2 separate regions of the Homo sapiens genome follow, and region 1 is linked to region 2. The links are contacts of gene promoters, found by promoter capture Hi-C in human tissues and cell types (Jung and others, 2019). All regions are on one chromosome and are shown on one strand. The core of a region is centred on a gene start or on the middle of the fragment in contact, and the rest is flanking DNA. Distances in the headings are between cores, read along the strand shown. Region 1 overlaps PAK2 (p21 (RAC1) activated kinase 2). Region 2 holds the start of SMCO1 (single-pass membrane protein with coiled-coil domains 1).

Evidence for each region. Contacts are between HindIII fragments. The study calls those that stand out against the background at their distance.
Region 1: a contact is called between a fragment that was not itself captured here and the fragment with the promoter of SMCO1 in region 2, in 3 of the 25 tissues and cell types used here (H1 embryonic stem cells, IMR-90 fibroblasts and mesenchymal stem cells).

The regions. Positions count from the first base shown.
Region 1 is chr3:196,783,312-196,789,006 of GRCh38, forward strand. All of the region lies in intron 2 of PAK2 (p21 (RAC1) activated kinase 2), which reads left to right. It also overlaps the pseudogene RNU6-42P. Among named protein-coding and RNA genes, the nearest start is that of PAK2, 46 kb to the left of the region's middle. RefSeq lists an enhancer at 3,589-4,295. The HindIII fragment of the contact is 5,914 bases long and covers 770-5,695 here.
Region 2 is chr3:196,514,096-196,516,795 of GRCh38, forward strand. SMCO1 (single-pass membrane protein with coiled-coil domains 1) reads right to left here and starts at 1,251. Exons shown (of 3, transcript NM_001077657.3): 1 at 1,065-1,251. The coding sequence starts at 1,114. The HindIII fragment of the contact is 4,365 bases long and covers 1-2,700 here.

The sequences.
Region 1 (5,695 bases), core at 2,477-4,976, 270 kb after region 2:
GCAAAATATATGTCTAGTTCAGGGTTTCTCAACCTCAACACTATTGACATCTTGGAGCCAAATAATTTGTTGTTGCAGGGACCTATCCCCTGGGGGCAAAATTACTCCAATTAAGAATCACTGGGCCAGACACAGTGGCTCGTGCCTGTAATCCCAGCTACTTGGGAGGCTGAGGCAGGAGAATCACTTGAATACGGGAGGTGGAGGTTACAGTGAGCCAAGATCGTGGCACCGCACTCCAGCCTGGGGAACAGGGTGAGACTCTCTCAAAAAAAAAAAAAAAAAGTGTACGTATATATATGTGTATATAAAACATCCTTGTACCTACCACCCAGCCTAGAATTTTATCAGTACCTCTGAAGTCCCCATCTGCTATACCCCATCCTAACCTTCTCTTCGTCCCCAATATCCACCATTCTGCATTTTTATTGTAATTTTATAACATATCTAGTCACCCTCAAATATGTATGGTTTAGGCATGCCTGTTTGGGAACCTTTTATGAATGGAATTATGCTGTCTGCATTTTTTCCACATACTTTTCACTCAGCTTTATGCTTTTGAGACTTGTTGATGTATGTGGTGTAGTTTGTTCACTTTCACTGCTGTGTATTGCTACACTGTAAATATACTGCAGTTTATTTGGCCAGTCTCCTATCTGTAGACATTTGGGTTGTTTTCATGAATAGTGTTGCTATGGATAATGTTGAATGTACATCTTACTGGGTGTAGGGCAAAGCTTCTCAAACTTCAGGTGATCTGTTAGTTTAGTTCTTGAATTGCTAATTAGAATCACCTGGGAAGCTTAATAAATCTGTGTTCAAACTCCATTTCATTCCAGTTGAATCAGCAATCAGCATCTTTAGGGGCTTACCCTGGCATTGTTTTTGGTTTTGTTTTTAATTTTTTTTTTCTTTTTTTTTTTTTTAATTATACTTTAAGTTTTAGGGTACATGTGCACATTGTGCAGGTTAGTTACATATGTATACATGTGCCATGCTGGTGCGCTGCACCCACTAACTCGTCATCTAGCATTAGGTATATCTCCCAATGCTATCCCTCCCCCCTCCCCCCACCCCACCACAGTCCCCAGAGTGTGATATTCCCCTTCCTGTGTCCATGTGATCTCATTGTTCAATTCCCACCTATGAGTGAGAATATGCAGTGTTTGGTTTTTTGTTCTTGCGATAGTTTACTGAGAATGATGATTTCCAATTTCATCCATGTCCCTACAAAGGACATGAACTCATCATTTTTTATGGCTGCATAGTATTCCATGGTGTATATGTGCCACATTTTCTTAATCCAGTCTATCATTGTTGGACATTTAGGTTGGTTCCAAGTCTTTGCTATTGTGAATAATGCCGCAATAAACATACGTGTGCATGTGTCTTTATAGCAGCATGATTTATAGTCATTTGGGTATATACCCAGTAATGGGATGGCTGGGTCAAATGGTATTGCTAGTTCTAGATCCCTGAGGAATCGCCACACTGACTTCCACAATGGTTGAACTAGTTTACAGTCCCACCAACAATGTAAAAGTGTTCCTATTTCTCCACATCCTCTCCAGCACCTGTTGTTTCCTGACTTTTTAATGATTGCCATTCTAACTGGTGTGAGATGGTATCTCATTGTGGTTTTGATTTGCATTTCTCTGATGGCCAGTGAAAAATATGGAACGCTTCACGAATTTGCGTGTCATCCTTGCGCAGGGGCCATGCTAATCTTCTCTGTATCGTTCGTATTTTAGTATATGTGCTGCTGAAGCGAGCACTGTTTTTAATTTTTTAAATACCCCAGATGATAATGATGTGCAGCTCATATTAAAAACCAATGCATTGGTGGGTTATGAACTCTGTATAGTGGACGACACTAAATGCGCTAGAATAATATAATCAGAGTGTTGTGCACACAGTGAAAACGTTGTCTTATGAAACAGTTTGTTTTAGTTATGTGTATACTGAGTCAGGATATAAAATGTATTTCTTGGTGTGGGTCCTGACCAAAGATTTAAAGGTCATTCAGAGATGTATATTTAGGATTAGAATTGCTGGGTTACAGGCTGTTCCCGTGTGTGACTTGACTAGGTTTGTCAGATTGTTTTCTAAAAGTTTTTAGTGTACATTCTCACCCACAGAAGATGAGCGTTCCCATTGCTGAGCACCCTCAGCAACTCTGGGAGGGGTGAAATACTAGCTCATTGTGTTTTAAATTGGCCTTTCCCTGATTACTCAAAAAACTGAGCATCTTTTCGGGTTAATTGACCATTCTTGTGTGCTTTCTGTGAAATATCTGTTCAAGAGAAAGAAATATCTGTTCACTATCTATATTAGTCTGTTTTCACACTGCTGATAAAGACATACCTGAGACTGGGTAATTTATACAAGAAAAAGGGTTTATTGGACTTACAGTTTCACATGGCTGGGGAGGCCTCACAATTATGGCGGAAGGCAAGGAGGAGCAAGTCGCGTCCTACGTGGATGACAGCAGGCAACGAGAGAGAGCTTGTGCAGGGAAACTCCCCCTTTTAAAACCAGGAGATCTTGTGAAGACCTGCCCATGATTCAGTTACCTCCTACTGGGTCTCTCCCACAACACATGAGAATTCAAGATGAGATTTGGGTGGGGACACAGCCAAACCATATCAAGGTCTTTAATCCATTTTTCTACTTGGTGGTTAGCTTTTTCGTTTTCTATTAATAAACATTCCTTGTAGTCTATACACTAATCCTTTGCCAGTTATATGATGTTAAAGATAGTATTCCAGGATGTGATTTGCCTTCTCACCCTTTCAGTAGTATATTTTAATGAATAGAAGTTATTAATTTGATATGGTGGATTTGATCAATTTCTCTTTTTTTTTTTTTTGAGATGGAGTCTCATTCTGTCACCCAGGCTGGAGTCTAGTGGCTCAATCTCAGCTCTCTGCAACCTCCGCCCCCCGGGTTCAATCAATTCTCCTGCCTCAGCCTCCCGAGTAGCTGGGATTACAGGCGCCTGCCACCGCGCCCGGCTAATTTTTGTATTTTTAGTAGAGACAGGGTTTCATCATGTTGGCCAGGCTGGTCTTGAACTTCTGACCTTGTGATCCACCTGCCTCAGCCTCCCAAAGTGCTGAGATTACAGGCGTGAGCCACCGTGCCTGTCTTCAATTTCTCTTTTTTGTGGTTCGAGCTTTTTGTTTTTTAAGAAATTTTTGTCTTACTTGAGGTCATAAAGACATTTTCCTGTATTTTTTCTATAGCTTGCCTTTTACACTTTAAATCTTTGAGCTAGCTGGATTTTATTTTTGTATATTTGTGAAAAGATTCACTTTCACTTTTTTCTTTAAACTTGGATAGTATCCCAGACCCATTTATTGAGTCTTCTATTTCCCCACTGACCTAGACCACCATTATTTGTCAGGTTTCCATGTGAGAGTCTGTTTCTGTGTTCTCTGCTTTATTCCATTAGGTTATTTGTCTGTACCTGAGCTAATAGTAGCACCCTGTCTTGATTACTATATCTTACAATCTTTTTTTTTTTTTCTTTGAGGCAGGGTCTCACTCTGTGACCCAGGCTGGAGTGCAGTGATATGTCTTGGATCATTGCAACCTCCACCTCCCAGATTCAAGTGATCCTCCTGCCTCAGCCTTCCAAGTAGTTGGGACTACAGGTGCACAACACCATGCCCAACTAATTTTTGTATTTTTTGTAGAGACAGGCTCTCATATGTTGCCCAGGCTGGTCTCAAACTCCTGAGCTCAAACGATCTGCCAGCCTTGGCCTCCCAAAGTGCTGGGATTACAGGCGCGAGCCACCACACCTGGCTCTTATATTGATTGTTAATGCCTGATGGAACAAATCTCTTAACCAGATTCTTCTTCAGAATCCTGTTAATTGCTTTGGCTTTTTGCATCTTTCTATAAATTTTAGAATCTGTTTATCATGTACTTTAACAGAAAAAAAAACCTGTGGCTACTTTGATTAGAATTGTATAGACTTTGGGCCGGGCACCGTGGCTTATGCCTGTAATCTCAGCACTTTGGGAGGCCGAGGCCGGCAGATCACGAGGTCAGGAGAGCGAGACCATCCTGGCTAACAAGGTGAAACGCCATCTCTACTAAAAATACAAAAATTAGCCAGGCATGGTGGCAGGTGCCTGTAGTCCCAGCTACTCTGGAGGCTGAGGCAGGAGAATGGTGTGGACCCGGGAGGCAGAGCTTGCAGTGAGCCTTGATTGCGCCACTGCACTCCAGCCTGGGCGACAGAGCGAGACTCCGTCTCAGAAAAAAAAAAAAAAAAAGAATTGTATAGACTTTGTAGGGCAAATAGGGGAGAATTGCATCCACCTTTGTAGCTGAGGGTGGGGAATCTGCAGAGCCTTTGTGTAGCCTGTTTACAGGGAAGTTTAGTTGCATGTCGTTTTCAGTCTCAGAGAGACAGAGATGTGTGGAATGTTTGGAGGGTAGGATGCTTCTTGATTCCTCCTGTTTCCTGGAGCTCTACCTCCCTTTCCTCTTACACTTATTGCTCCTACCTGGAAGCTGAAACACAGCCCAGTCACTGGGGCCCAGCTTTCGGCATTAGGAATGAGGGAGAACCTTGTGTGTGTTTACACATCCGTGCTTTTGTAAACATAGAAATAACCTGCTCTGTTGCTCTCACTGGATTATCCCGTTCATCACCCTAGTGGTTGCCTCTGGGTCCGCTCATTTCCACCCACCTTGCTTCTAGTTTCAGCCACCTGCAGCAGTTTGCAGAAGCATTTTCCCACTGACATCCTAACTGCTGCTTCTCTCGCTAGTCTTATGCTAATTGCTTTTCATTCTGGAGCATTCCTCGTGGATTTTATTCTGTGAAACACTCGGTTTTGGTGTAGAAGGGAGAGAACTTCAGTATGTGCTCAGTACATCATCTTGAAACAGAAGAGTCTAAAAGGCAAACAATTGTATTTCCATTTTTTAAAAATCATAATGACCTTAAGACTTTTGCCATCTCTAATGTAAGGCCTGATCTAGAGATAATTCATTTTATTCCACTAAAAAATTTACATCCCTTACTGCTTTCCTTACTAAAAAAACAGCTAATATTTTTATAAAAAGAAAATAAAGACTCTAGGATGTTTTCACTTATTAATTACTGGTTTTAATTGGTATCACCAAAAAACTCGAAAATTATCCTTTTGGATCGTGCCGTTTTAAGGCAACTTGACAGAACAGATCTTTTTTCCATGCTTGCTAATGTGTGTACTATGTGAATAATCAGAGATGAGTGATAAAGCAGATAGTGTCCCTGCTCCCACGACAGCAATCTCAAACCATGGTATAGAATTACAAGCCATGAAAAGTGGTACAGAGGCAGTGCACAACATGTGTCCAATCTGCAGTGTCTGGGAAGGCTTCCTAAGGAGGTCATAATAGAGCTGAAGACTGCAGGATGGGTAAGGGAAACGATAGTTACAAAGTGTGTTCCATGCCCGGGAAGAGCCTGTTTCAGTGGCCCACCTACAGGAGGGATCAGAGCACATCCATGGAGCTGAGTGCCGCCCGGTGTTACTGGAAAGCAGAGAGGGAAGGACAGAGAATTACAGCAGGGTGTATGTAGGCACTACAGACAGCAGAAGAGGCTGAAGAGGTAGGCAGTGACCAGGTCATAAAGGGCCTTGTATTCTATGCTACAGAGCTCACATTTTATCCTGTTTCCTGGGGAACC
Region 2 (2,700 bases), core at 1-2,500:
TCCAGACACATTCTTCTAAAACACAATTCCGATTCTGTGACTCAACTGATTACAAATGGTTTATGTCATCCTGGCTTGCCCAGTGATATACTCAGAGGCAAACTGGATCTCCTCAGCAGGAAAGTCAAGGGCCTTCACCCTTTGCTCCTGTCTTCCACCAGTCCCCTCACCCATCCTAGTTACCAATTACACGAGACATCTAGTTGCTGCTTGAATACATTATGTGGTTCCAAGCTTACATATGGCTTATATGCACTGTTTCCTCAGCCTAGAATGCCTTCCCATATTTTTCTCCCTCATAAGCTCCTACTTGCACTTTAAGATCCAGCTTAAATGACCCTATATGAAGAGTTCCTTTTTCTAGTGTCAAAGGCAAAATTGGTTGATCCTCCCTTCATGTTCGCATAGACCTTTAGGAACATCACCATTGTAAGGTCAGTCACATTAAATTGTAAATGTTTTTCAAACTTTTCTCTTTCCTACAGGCTGTGAGCTCCTTGAGGGCAGAAACCACATTTTACTTATTTTTGTAAATCTAGGATTTAGCATATGCATACATTCAATGGAGTTACAGCACCTGGGAGCAGACTTTTCTTTATTGTTAATTTACATAGGTTTGGGCCTGGAAGACTTAAACCACTGTAATAGAGACGGAATTCTTTTTTTGGACGGAGTCTTGCTCTGTTGCCAGGCTGGAGTGCAGTGGCACGATCTCGGCTCACTGCAACCTCCACCTCCCGGGTTCAAGTGATTCTCCTGCCTCAGCCTCCCAAGTAGCTGGGACTACAGGCGCCCGCCACCATGCCTGGGTAATTTTTGTATTTTTAGTAGAGGCAGGGTTTCACCATGTTCGCCAGGCTGGTCTCAATCTCTTGACCCTGTGATCCGCCCACCTCGGCCTCCCAGTGTGCTGGGATTACAGGTGTGAGCCACCGCACCGGCCACAGAGACAGAATTCTAATGAGCATGTCTGCAGTTCTTTATTTCTATTCTTCATTCTTCTCTTACCCATCTTCCCAGAATAGCAGACCCATGCTTGCTCCCTCCCTATAGCCCTCAGCAACCTTTTCATTGCCTCCTTCAAGGATATCAGGGTTGTGGTTTCATTGTTCATCTTCTGAAGGCAAAAGGAAAGAAAACAAAAACAAAGCAAAACAAAAAAAGCAATAAATGTTTGAATCCAGAATTTTCTGCGGTCTTCCTCTCAGCAACAGGCAGCAGTAGCAGGAGCGCTCAGTCTACATTCTGCCTGAAAGGTCACTCAGTACAAGAAGCTTTTAATAGCCTGCAGATCCAAATATAGTTTCAAAGAACTTATCTCGTGGACACAGGTGTCCTGGAATGCACTATAACATTTGCCTTTGAAAACTGAACCATAGTACATTAACATACAGCAACAACCATGTATAATTAATGACTGTGTACATTATGGTAAATGTATATACAGATACATTAACGTAACGTATAGGATTAAGTTTGATGGAAATATTACTGTCATATTTTAACTGCTTCATTATTCAATTACAACCTAAATTAGGTTTGAAGAGTGCCCCAGATCTTTTATGATGATGATATCAAAGCAAAAAATCTAACTATCATTAGAAACTACTAAATACTTGTTATGGCTGGGTATGGTGGCTCACTCCTGTAATCCCAGCACTTGGGGAAGCCAAGGTGGGAGGATTGCTTGAGCCCAGGAATTCAAGACCAGCCTGGGCCACAGAGCGAGACTGTCTCCACAAAAAATACAAAAATTAGCCAGGAGTGGTGGTGCATGCCTGTAGTCCCAGCTACTCAAGAGGCTGAAGTGGGAGGACTGCTTGAGCCCAGGAGTTCGAAGCTGCAGTGAGCTATGATCATGCCACTGCACTCCAGCCCGGGCAAGAGGATAGGATATATATATATATATATATATATATATATATATATATATATAATTATATATAAAATTATACATATAATTATATATAATATATAATTTATATCGTATATAAAATATATATATAATTTTATATAATTATATATATATTAGATTAGGAATTGAATATAAATGTGGAAATAAAATAGGACTGCTGTTTTCATGAGATTTAAAATCTAGTTGGGAAGAAAGAATATATCCTTAAATAGAAAATGTATATGGGATGTGTGCTAAGTAGATAGAGACCATAAAAATAATAGAAGGTGAGAGACTAAGTCACTGAAATCTTGGGTCCTTGGGGAGATATTCACCCTGAAGGTGGTACTTGGCTTGGCCTTAAAGGTCAAGGTCTTTGATTATCAGAGAAGAGTGTTAAGGGTGTTACGAACTGGAGAAATTGTGTGAGCAAAATCACAGAGGTGGCAAAGTAAATGATGTGTTCAGGAAACAATGAGTAGGTATGTTTTGAGCAAAAGATTCATATAAGAAAAAGAAAATAACCACACCATTTAAACTGGTAAGAGCCATGTCACGTATTTGTTCTTTCACTGAATACTTTATTCACTTATTCAATATTTACTGAGCATCATAGATATTAATTGAATGTATAAAACCTACGAATGGATGAGCAGCACTATTCCAGGCACTGGTAATATAGTGATAAGTAAGGCGAAATCCTTGTCCTCAAGGAACATACTAGCAGGGAGACAGCACATAAGGCTTATAAGAGAGGGGATGCTTCTAGCTAGCTTGGTAAGGAGTTTGGACAGATGTGAGCTGTT